2 separate regions of the Homo sapiens genome follow, and region 1 is linked to region 2. The links are contacts of gene promoters, found by promoter capture Hi-C in blood cells and fetal thymus (Javierre and others, 2016). All regions are on one chromosome and are shown on one strand. Each heading gives the region's core, a stretch centred on a gene start or on the middle of the fragment in contact. The rest is flanking DNA. Distances are from core to core; before and after follow the strand shown.

What was found. The method cuts DNA at HindIII sites, captures the fragments that hold promoters and counts their contacts. A CHiCAGO score of 5 or more calls a contact.
Region 1: a contact is called between the fragment with the promoter of LRRIQ3 here and the fragment with the promoter of NEGR1 in region 2, in 2 of 17 cell types (monocytes and fetal thymus). The highest score is 6.1, in monocytes.

Annotation. Positions count from the first base shown.
Region 1 is chr1:74,195,825-74,199,879 of GRCh38, reverse strand. It overlaps LRRIQ3 (leucine rich repeats and IQ motif containing 3), which reads left to right and starts at 1,704. Exons shown (of 8, transcript NM_001105659.2): 1 at 1,704-1,884. It overlaps FPGT-TNNI3K (FPGT-TNNI3K readthrough), which reads right to left and starts at 1,638. Exons shown (of 27, transcript NM_001112808.3): 1 at 1,520-1,638; 2 at 49-216. The coding sequence starts at 1,601. It overlaps FPGT (fucose-1-phosphate guanylyltransferase), which reads right to left and starts at 1,638. Exons shown (of 4, transcript NM_003838.5): 1 at 1,520-1,638; 2 at 49-216. The coding sequence starts at 1,601. RefSeq lists a silencer at 1,701-1,800. The HindIII fragment of the contact is 8,918 bases long and covers 1-4,055 here.
Region 2 is chr1:72,279,920-72,284,101 of GRCh38, reverse strand. It overlaps NEGR1 (neuronal growth regulator 1), which reads left to right and starts at 1,563. Exons shown (of 7, transcript NM_173808.3): 1 at 1,563-1,783. The coding sequence starts at 1,608. It overlaps LOC105378797 (a long non-coding RNA gene), which reads right to left and starts at 1,168. Exons shown (of 6, transcript XR_947506.3): 1 at 697-1,168. RefSeq lists silencers at 1,127-1,216, 1,317-1,376. The HindIII fragment of the contact is 3,164 bases long and covers 1-3,098 here.

The sequences.
Region 1 (4,055 bases), core at 455-2,954, 1.9 Mb before region 2:
TTATTCTGCTTAGGACCTATATTATAAAACTGACCATAAAGCGCGTACCAATTTTGGCTCCAGCAGGATCCACAAAAACGTGATATTGAACTCCAAGGGGTAACTCCTTTCTTTTCAGCTTTTCTGACAGCTGTTGGTTGTAAGCAAGTTCCTGTTTTTCATCAGCCGCTGTTATTGCAACTATGTCCCAGAATTCTCCACGTGCTACAAGTTTGCCTATTTGGAAAAAGCAAGGAAATGAAAACAAAAATTATCAGAATTTTCTAGTTGCCACAGGTTTGCCTATTGAGAAAGATGATAAAGAAGGTAATATCCATTATCATCTTCCAAAATGTATCTTTGGCTTTTGAAAGTTAGGGAATAATTAGTGGTGCATTAATACGATTCAAAATAGTTATAATGAAGACTGTTCACAAGTTCCTTTTTTTTCTTTTAGATCACTCCCTCCTTTTATGGTTTGCAATCCAATTTAATTATAAATTCTGAATGACATAATGTTTCTTGATTAAGAGAGCGACTTTTAACTTGCCAAAGACTATTGCCTCAATTCTTCAATAAGAAGAGGAGATAAACATAAACAAATCTCCAGCTTTGCAAATCAATTCTTATGTATCACGGACACTTGGTGTTAGGTGACTAAGAAAGACACAACCCAAAGATCCCTTCCCTCAATGTTGCTGTTTATAAATGTGGGTACTTTATTTTCTATTACTTTAAGATGAACCATGCAAACTTACATAGGCTGTTAGAATATAACATAAAATTCTGGATAACAGAAGGTCCCAACTCTCTGATGACATCTTTAAAAGACAGTGTGCACTTTTAGTAGACAGTTGGAATCTCTTTATTGATAAACAAAATGATTTAGCATTTTAATTAGTTAACAAACAGAACTTGTCAGCTAGAATCTAATAGTCCTGAAAGTTTTACTGTTATCCAAGAATTAGTCCCAGTATTTTTTAAGCAGTCACTGCAACACAAATATAATCACTTTTATTAGACAGGTGTACAGGGATTAAGTGTCATAGCCAATTTTTTGATAACAAATTTCTTCCTTTTAATTTTTAATCCATAATTCCTCCATGTTCTGTTACTCCCTCAACAAACGGTTACATTACAGAAGTAGATGAACGTAATGTAAAGCGTGAAGTAGATAGGGGGCTGGCATCTACTCATAAAGTTCAAAATACTGTGCTTCGTATCTTTTAGATTTATTTAAAGCAACTTTTATTAATGAGCTAATCAATGCATAACTTCACTAGTAAGATTTTCTTCTTCTTCCTCCGCCCTCATTTTTAATATCTATACTACTAAGAATAAAGTAAGCAACAAGCATGTCAAGCAGGGACAGTGAAAAGAATAAAAAACTCAAAAGGATTATTAGCTAGCTACTCCTGGGGAGCGTCATAGGCCTACAGATGAGAAGTAAACGGGAAGTGACAGTCCAGCAAACCTCCTGGCACGTAAAAGCACCCTCCCTCTGCATTGCCCAGGAGAACTCCGGTGCCTTCTCTGGTACCTCTTAGCTCGGAAAACCTCCGCAATTTTCGCTGGGTGGCTTCTCGCAGCGATACTTCCGGAGGGTCCCTAGCAGCTGCCATAGCCCCACCTTCCCTGAGACCGCGCCGCACAGCACGCATGCGCCCTGGGGTGCGCCTCCGCCCGGTTGTTTCTGACCCGCCCCCTCCGTGCGTCGCCCACGTAACCACGCCCCCGGAGCGCCTTGGCTGGCGCCCGGAAAACCATGATGTGGAGAACTTGGATGTTGTCTTGTTTCTCTAGCAACGGTCTCAGGAGCAGATGGCCGCCCAGCGATTTGTCTGACTGTGTTGGGGCTGGGCCACTTGTCTCCAACTCATAAGGGCTTGCAGCCCAGTTGACCCGGTGAGTGGTTCAGTTTGGGTGACAAAATTGTTAGAACCGACCCGCTAAGGATAAGGCGAAACTACATTCTAGCTTCCCAGCTTTCACATCAAAGGCGGTTCGTCCTAACTGGTGGTTTGTTTCAGCCTGGAGCAGTTCCCCAGGATAGCCTGATAGAAGATCTCCGCCATCTCTCCTTTCCCCCGCCACCCCGGGCCATCTGCCCCCAACCCTGGGTCATGATACATACACAGTCTGAATATTTAAAATCTCTGCTCTTTCTAGGAACCTTAAGTTTGTGGTTCCTAGAGAGTGAGCCACCCCACCCCTCTGTTTTTTCTTAGTAGGCTACACACGACAGCCTCTCAAATAGTGTCTTTGAAAGTTGTATAAAATTCAGTCCGCAACCAGGCTCCAAATATTTTTGGTATTTTGGTTTCTTCTCTGGCATTCTTTTGTATATGCAGATTAATCTAGAATGTTCAATAACACTCTTAGGAATAAGTCAGCCTTTTTAGGTGTTTTTTTGGGTAGCTATATAAAGGTGTTCCTGTTATAGAACACGAGGTTTCTTGGTTTTACAGACCACTTCATCTTTACACAGAAGAAAACTGAATCAGAGAATAGTGAGTTAGTCAAGGTATCACAATTAGTAAGTAATAAAAGATTTAAGAAATATATTTCAATCCCAAACCCAGAACTTGTGGTATTTCACCATACCGTTTGATTTTTTGAGACGATTTCTCTGTATCAACGTCTTCATTAGGTACGTAGACATTCAGGGCACCATAAACTCTTGTCATAAATTTACTTAGTTTTTCTTCTCAGACTTGTTATACAATCGTGTTCTAATAGTGGAAACATTTGGATAAAATGGCAGATTAGATTACTCTTTCATAGTTTTACATTTAAAACTTCATTAATTAAAAAAACAGTATCTTATTGAAGAACATTTAGAAAATACAGAGACTTGAGTGAAAGTAACCAAAGGAGAAAGTAGCGAGAGAAGGTCAGAGAGAGAACAAAGGGCCATAGGAAGAATTTTGGTTTTTACTCTTGAGGGAAACAAAGCCATTGCAGGGTTTTGAAGTGACTTGGCTTATGTTTAAAGAGATCACTCGGAGATAGGAGAATAGATTATAATGGGGGATGAGGCAATGATAGAAGCAGGGAGACTTCTTTGGAGGTTACTGCAATATTGCAGGTGAGAGCTGGTGAAGGCTTGACCAGGATGGTAGCAGTGGGAATGGTGAGAAGTTGGTCAGATTCTGGATATATTTTTAAGACAAAAACAATAAAATGTGCTGATGGAATTAATGGGTGTGGACTGTAAGAGAAAAAGAGGAGTCAAAATGACTGCCTTGGGATGGATTGGCCATCAATTAAGATGGGTAAGTTTCCGACTGAGGAAGGTTTTTGGGGTAATAGGGTCCAGAATTTGATTTTGGACATGTGGAATAAAGAGACATGTGTATGCAGTGAATATGTAATGGAAGTTTGTGTGTGTATGTGTCTGTATGCATTATACATACGAGTCTAGAATTCAGGAGAGAGGTCTGGGCTAGAGATACAATTTTGGGAATTGTCAGCAAGAAGATAGAATTAATTTTAACTGTGGAACTAAGTGAGGTCCCAAGGGAGTGAAGGTCAGCAGAGCCTATATGTTTGGGGTCTGTATATTCTAATAAGGTGAAATAAAGAAGGAAGAAGTAACCAAATAAAAAATCCAGTGGTAACAATTGTGAGGAGACAAACAGAGTGATGTGTTAGATTCTATCATACAGAATATTAAATAGAGTATTTATTGGATCTAGGACGGTATCATACAGAATATTAGAGTATTTCTTGGATCTGGGAAGGATGGCCATAGAAATTGGATATTATTTTTTCTCAATATGACTATATCATGCAATCAAAATTTGCTGGAAATAAATATACCATATTATCAGCTATGGCTTCTGTTTTCTTTCTTTTCTCAAATTTTCATTAATATTAATTTTTAGTAAAAAAAAAATTAAAAAATACTATATATATGAGTAGGAGTAAATTTCCGTGGCAGTTGATTGTTGGAGGCAAAAAAAGTTTAGGGATTTTATTTAAGTTCATATTCACTATAATAAAACAGTGTGATATGACTGTTTAACATCTTAAGCTACCAGAGTATTATTATACTAGAGAATTCGCCACAGAGT
Region 2 (4,182 bases), core at 314-2,813:
GCCTAGTATCTCCTTCTGCCTTGGGCCAGGGCAGGGCTGAAAACAGCCCGGCGAGCTGCGGAGGGGCTGCTGCGTGGGGAAGCGGAGGTTACCGCTCTGCACCGCGGAGGAGCAAGCCTGTTAACGCGGTGTGGAGGCTGTTAAGAAATACAACCCTGCGACTCGTTAAACCCCTTAACTCTGCCCTGCCTTGACTCGGATGCGCCGATTATTCGGCCTGATAGGCTCAAATGGGTTAAACTGCCTCTTACATAACTGGACCGCCTGGGCTCTACACAATTAAAACACTTGATTGCAGTCTTTTCCCGACTCTACATCCCAGCATGACCCGCCCCGTCCCTCCCAGCGCGCCTGCGTGCCGCGCGTGCACAGGCCCCCGCGCGCACGACACGCTCTCTATCACACACACACTCCATGTTGACCATAAACAATCCCCTACTCACACACACAACTTAGTGTCAACACCCACAGATAAAAGAGGGGCGTCCTGCAATCCATACGGGCCGACCGCCACAAACACGCAAGCTGCTCTGCCGCAAGGCCTTGCACCTCCTCGTGTCCCCGCAAAAAAGCAGCGCCCCGCCACCGTCCCTACCTATTCCCGAGAAAACGCAGAGAGAACTAGTTGGCTGCTCGCTAACTGCAGCGTAGCCACCCAGGCAAGATTAGAAGAAAATAAACAAAAAAACAACTCACAGTCGCCGGCGTCATGATGGCGCCGACCACAACTTGGAGGACTTCAAACTTACGGTGCCTCGAGAGGTAAAACGCACCGGTGAGGGAAGGCAAAGCGCCCCTCAGCTCTCTTCACCCCAGCCCTGACACGGAGACTTTTCTAGCAAAGAATCCCTCTAGCGCTTACGACAGTAAGGAGAGCCTTCATTCTAAGGTGCCTCTCTTTCCCCCTTAGTTTGCATAATTGTGATACAGTTCCTCCTATTTTTTTTTTCGTTGTCTTGCTTTTCTTTTTTTTTTCTTGCTATCTTTTTTCTTTCTTTTTTTATTATTTTTTTAATCCCCCTCCCTTCTCCATCCCCAGTCCCCTGGCGGGGTTGCTAAGGAAACGGCCGCTTGGCAACGCGCGCGAGCCCGGGAGCCGGCGGCCGGCGCAGCGCTCCGCGCTGCTTCTGCTGCTGCTGTTGCTGTTGCTGCTGCTGCTGCTGGGATTGCAGCCGCCGCCGCCGCCGCTCGCCCTGCCTCCTCCCCCGCCGCCGCGCCTCCTCCCTCACTCGCCGGCGCGCTCGCCTCCTCGCTAGATGGTGTGCGAGCCGCCCGAGAATTAGACACACTCCGGACGCGGCCAAAAGCAACCGAGAGGAGGTGTAGTGTGGTGCCAGGGGGAGGGAGGGGAGGGAGGGAGGGAAAGCGAAGAGGAGGAGGGGAGGCAAAAACACCGAAAAACAAAAAGAGAGAAACAACACCCAACAACTGGGGTGGGGGGAAGAAAGAAAGAAAAGAAACCCACCCACCCACCAAAAAAAAAAAAAAAAAAAAAAAAAAAAAAAAATCCTGTGGCGCGCCGCCTGGTTCCCGGGAAGACTCGCCAGCACCAGGGGGTGGGGGAGTGCGAGCTGAAAGCTGCTGGAGAGTGAGCAGCCCTAGCAGGGATGGACATGATGCTGTTGGTGCAGGGTGCTTGTTGCTCGAACCAGTGGCTGGCGGCGGTGCTCCTCAGCCTGTGCTGCCTGCTACCCTCCTGCCTCCCGGCTGGACAGAGTGTGGACTTCCCCTGGGCGGCCGTGGACAACATGATGGTCAGAAAAGGGGACACGGCGGTGCTTAGGTAGGAAGAACGGCGTGCTTTTCGTACTTGTTTCGGTCTATCTTTCTGTCTCTCTTTGAACCCTCTTTGCCTTCTTTATAACACAAGCAATAATGCTGGTGGTGCTCATCATGGAAAGACCACATCCCAAGAATTCCAGGTGCAGATTCTTCCCGGAGCCCCGGCCCGTTTATGCTGGGGCAGGTAGCAAGCTGGACTCGTGATGCTAAAGCACTTTGCCGGAACGCCAAGTAGCCTGGGGATGAGTGAACTGTCAGGTTTAGAAGGAGGGGCAGGTGCCACTTTGAAACTCAATGCACAAGGTCTCTGTTTTACTGTCATGGGGTACTCCTGGAGAGTCTGACAAGTTTATCAGGTTTGTTTCTATTTTACTCCAGCATAAGCGACTCTTTCAAACTGCTGTTCTCTGCTCCCATTTATTTTCCCTCTCACTTGGACACTTAGGCTCGATTTCTTGCTCTTTATCTTTCTTTCCTTTTACCGCTTTCTGTTTTCTTTCTTTTCTCCTTCCTCATTCTCTTATACCATTTTCCCCACCTCCTTGTAACTCTTTTTCCCTCCAATATCTCTTTTCATACCTTTTCTATTTTCTGTTTTTTCCCTCCTTTTTAAAATTTCTTCTCATATTTTCTCATTTTTATCTCCACGACTCTAATTTCTGTTCCTCACATTTAATCCCCTTTCCTCCTCTCTTTTACCCTTTTTTCTTTTTGTCTATTTTTTTTATTCCTCCTTAATGTCCCTATCCTGTGCCCTGTCTTCCCTCTTTTGACTCCCATTTCTCATCCCTCTCCCCATACCGTTTCCCACCCCTGTGGCACACACAGGCATGGTCACTGTTCCCCTCCAGTACCATTTACTCACCCTCATAAATCTTATTTCCATAAACATACTAACTCACATACTCTCACATCCTCACATGCACTGGCACTTCCATGCTGTAAGAACCACTTCCACATTCAGATTGTCTCTCACTGTTTTTAAAAGGCATACTCTCCTTCTCTGTTCCACATTGTCACTCACACATGTGTACACACTGCCTGTCTCACTCGCTGCTCTCACTCTGTCTCTGCTTCTCTCTTTTTCTCTTTCTGTGTCTTTCTATCCCCTTTTTATTCCTACCTTCCTCCCTCCATCAGTCTTCACTTTTACTTATTTTTCTCATTTTCCCTTCTTTCCTCTGAGCTTGAGCTCTGAGGTGGTTTGTCATTAATAAACATCCATACCCTGATTTTACCCCTAAGCAACACTGCAGAGTGGGAGTCTGGGAATATTTTATTTCCTATGAAAATATAAATGGATGATCAGCAAAGCTTAGATCTAAACAAAGCTAAACGCCCTATTCCTTCATTTCTTTCCCATCACCCTCCCTTCTCCCCCTGCCACCCCACCTCACATTTCCCTGAAAGATCTTCTTTTTCTCCACTGGGTGGTAGTTGGCTTGTAAGTCTGGCTTGCACAACATCAGTGTACATGACATGTCTAAGGTGAAAGAGAGTGGGAAATGTTTCTGTTTGAAACATGCAACATATTTAAATTTAATGATGTGGGTGTGGTATATGACTTACACCTTTTGGAACATGCCTATGAGTTCAAATTTGGAATACTATCGTATTTTTTAATATACACTAATACATATGTTTTTAATAATTTCTGTTTTGAATAACAAATGCCACTATATACAAAAGTAACTAATATCTTTGATATTACACAGTAAAAAAAAACTTTTCATTGTTGGTAACAGTGATAAATTCTTTGTCACAGAGAGGATATAAATTAAGCCTGTATTTTCTCTTTATGTTAAGTTTGTTTTAGAAGTTTGAACAACAGTGGTAAGGGCAAGACACTATCTTCAGAGATTGCAAACACATATCATGGGAGCTGCAATATGTATTTTTGTAGCAAGCAACATATTGCTTATTTGTAGTGAGCATTACCATTTCCACCCTAAAGGGTTTAGGAGACTGCTTTTCTTTCAATAATGTATCCTGGCATTTGGTTTCCCAAACAAACAACAATTTAATAAATACTATGGTTAGTGAAGATAGCTGGACCCACATTCTGCTTCCAGGAGACCCATGTTTAGTTCACTCATTGCTTCCAACAGTGGAGCTTCCCTAATATGTGGGGACCATATATTTCCAGTGTTGTTGGTTTGGTGCAGTCCTTGTTTACTTTGTGTGCTCTGTACCTCATCCATTTTGATGCTATATCCCGCATTTTGTGATACTGAGGGAACTTGACTTTCAAACTTCTTAAAGAGAACAGAGTCTCTGTGTCTTCTCAATAATGTTTCTAACAAATTAGATTTTAGTTTTTAAATTTTTTTATCATATGAAATAGAAATTTGAACTGCATTACTTTTACTCAAAGCAATTTGCTTACAGTAATTCTGAAAT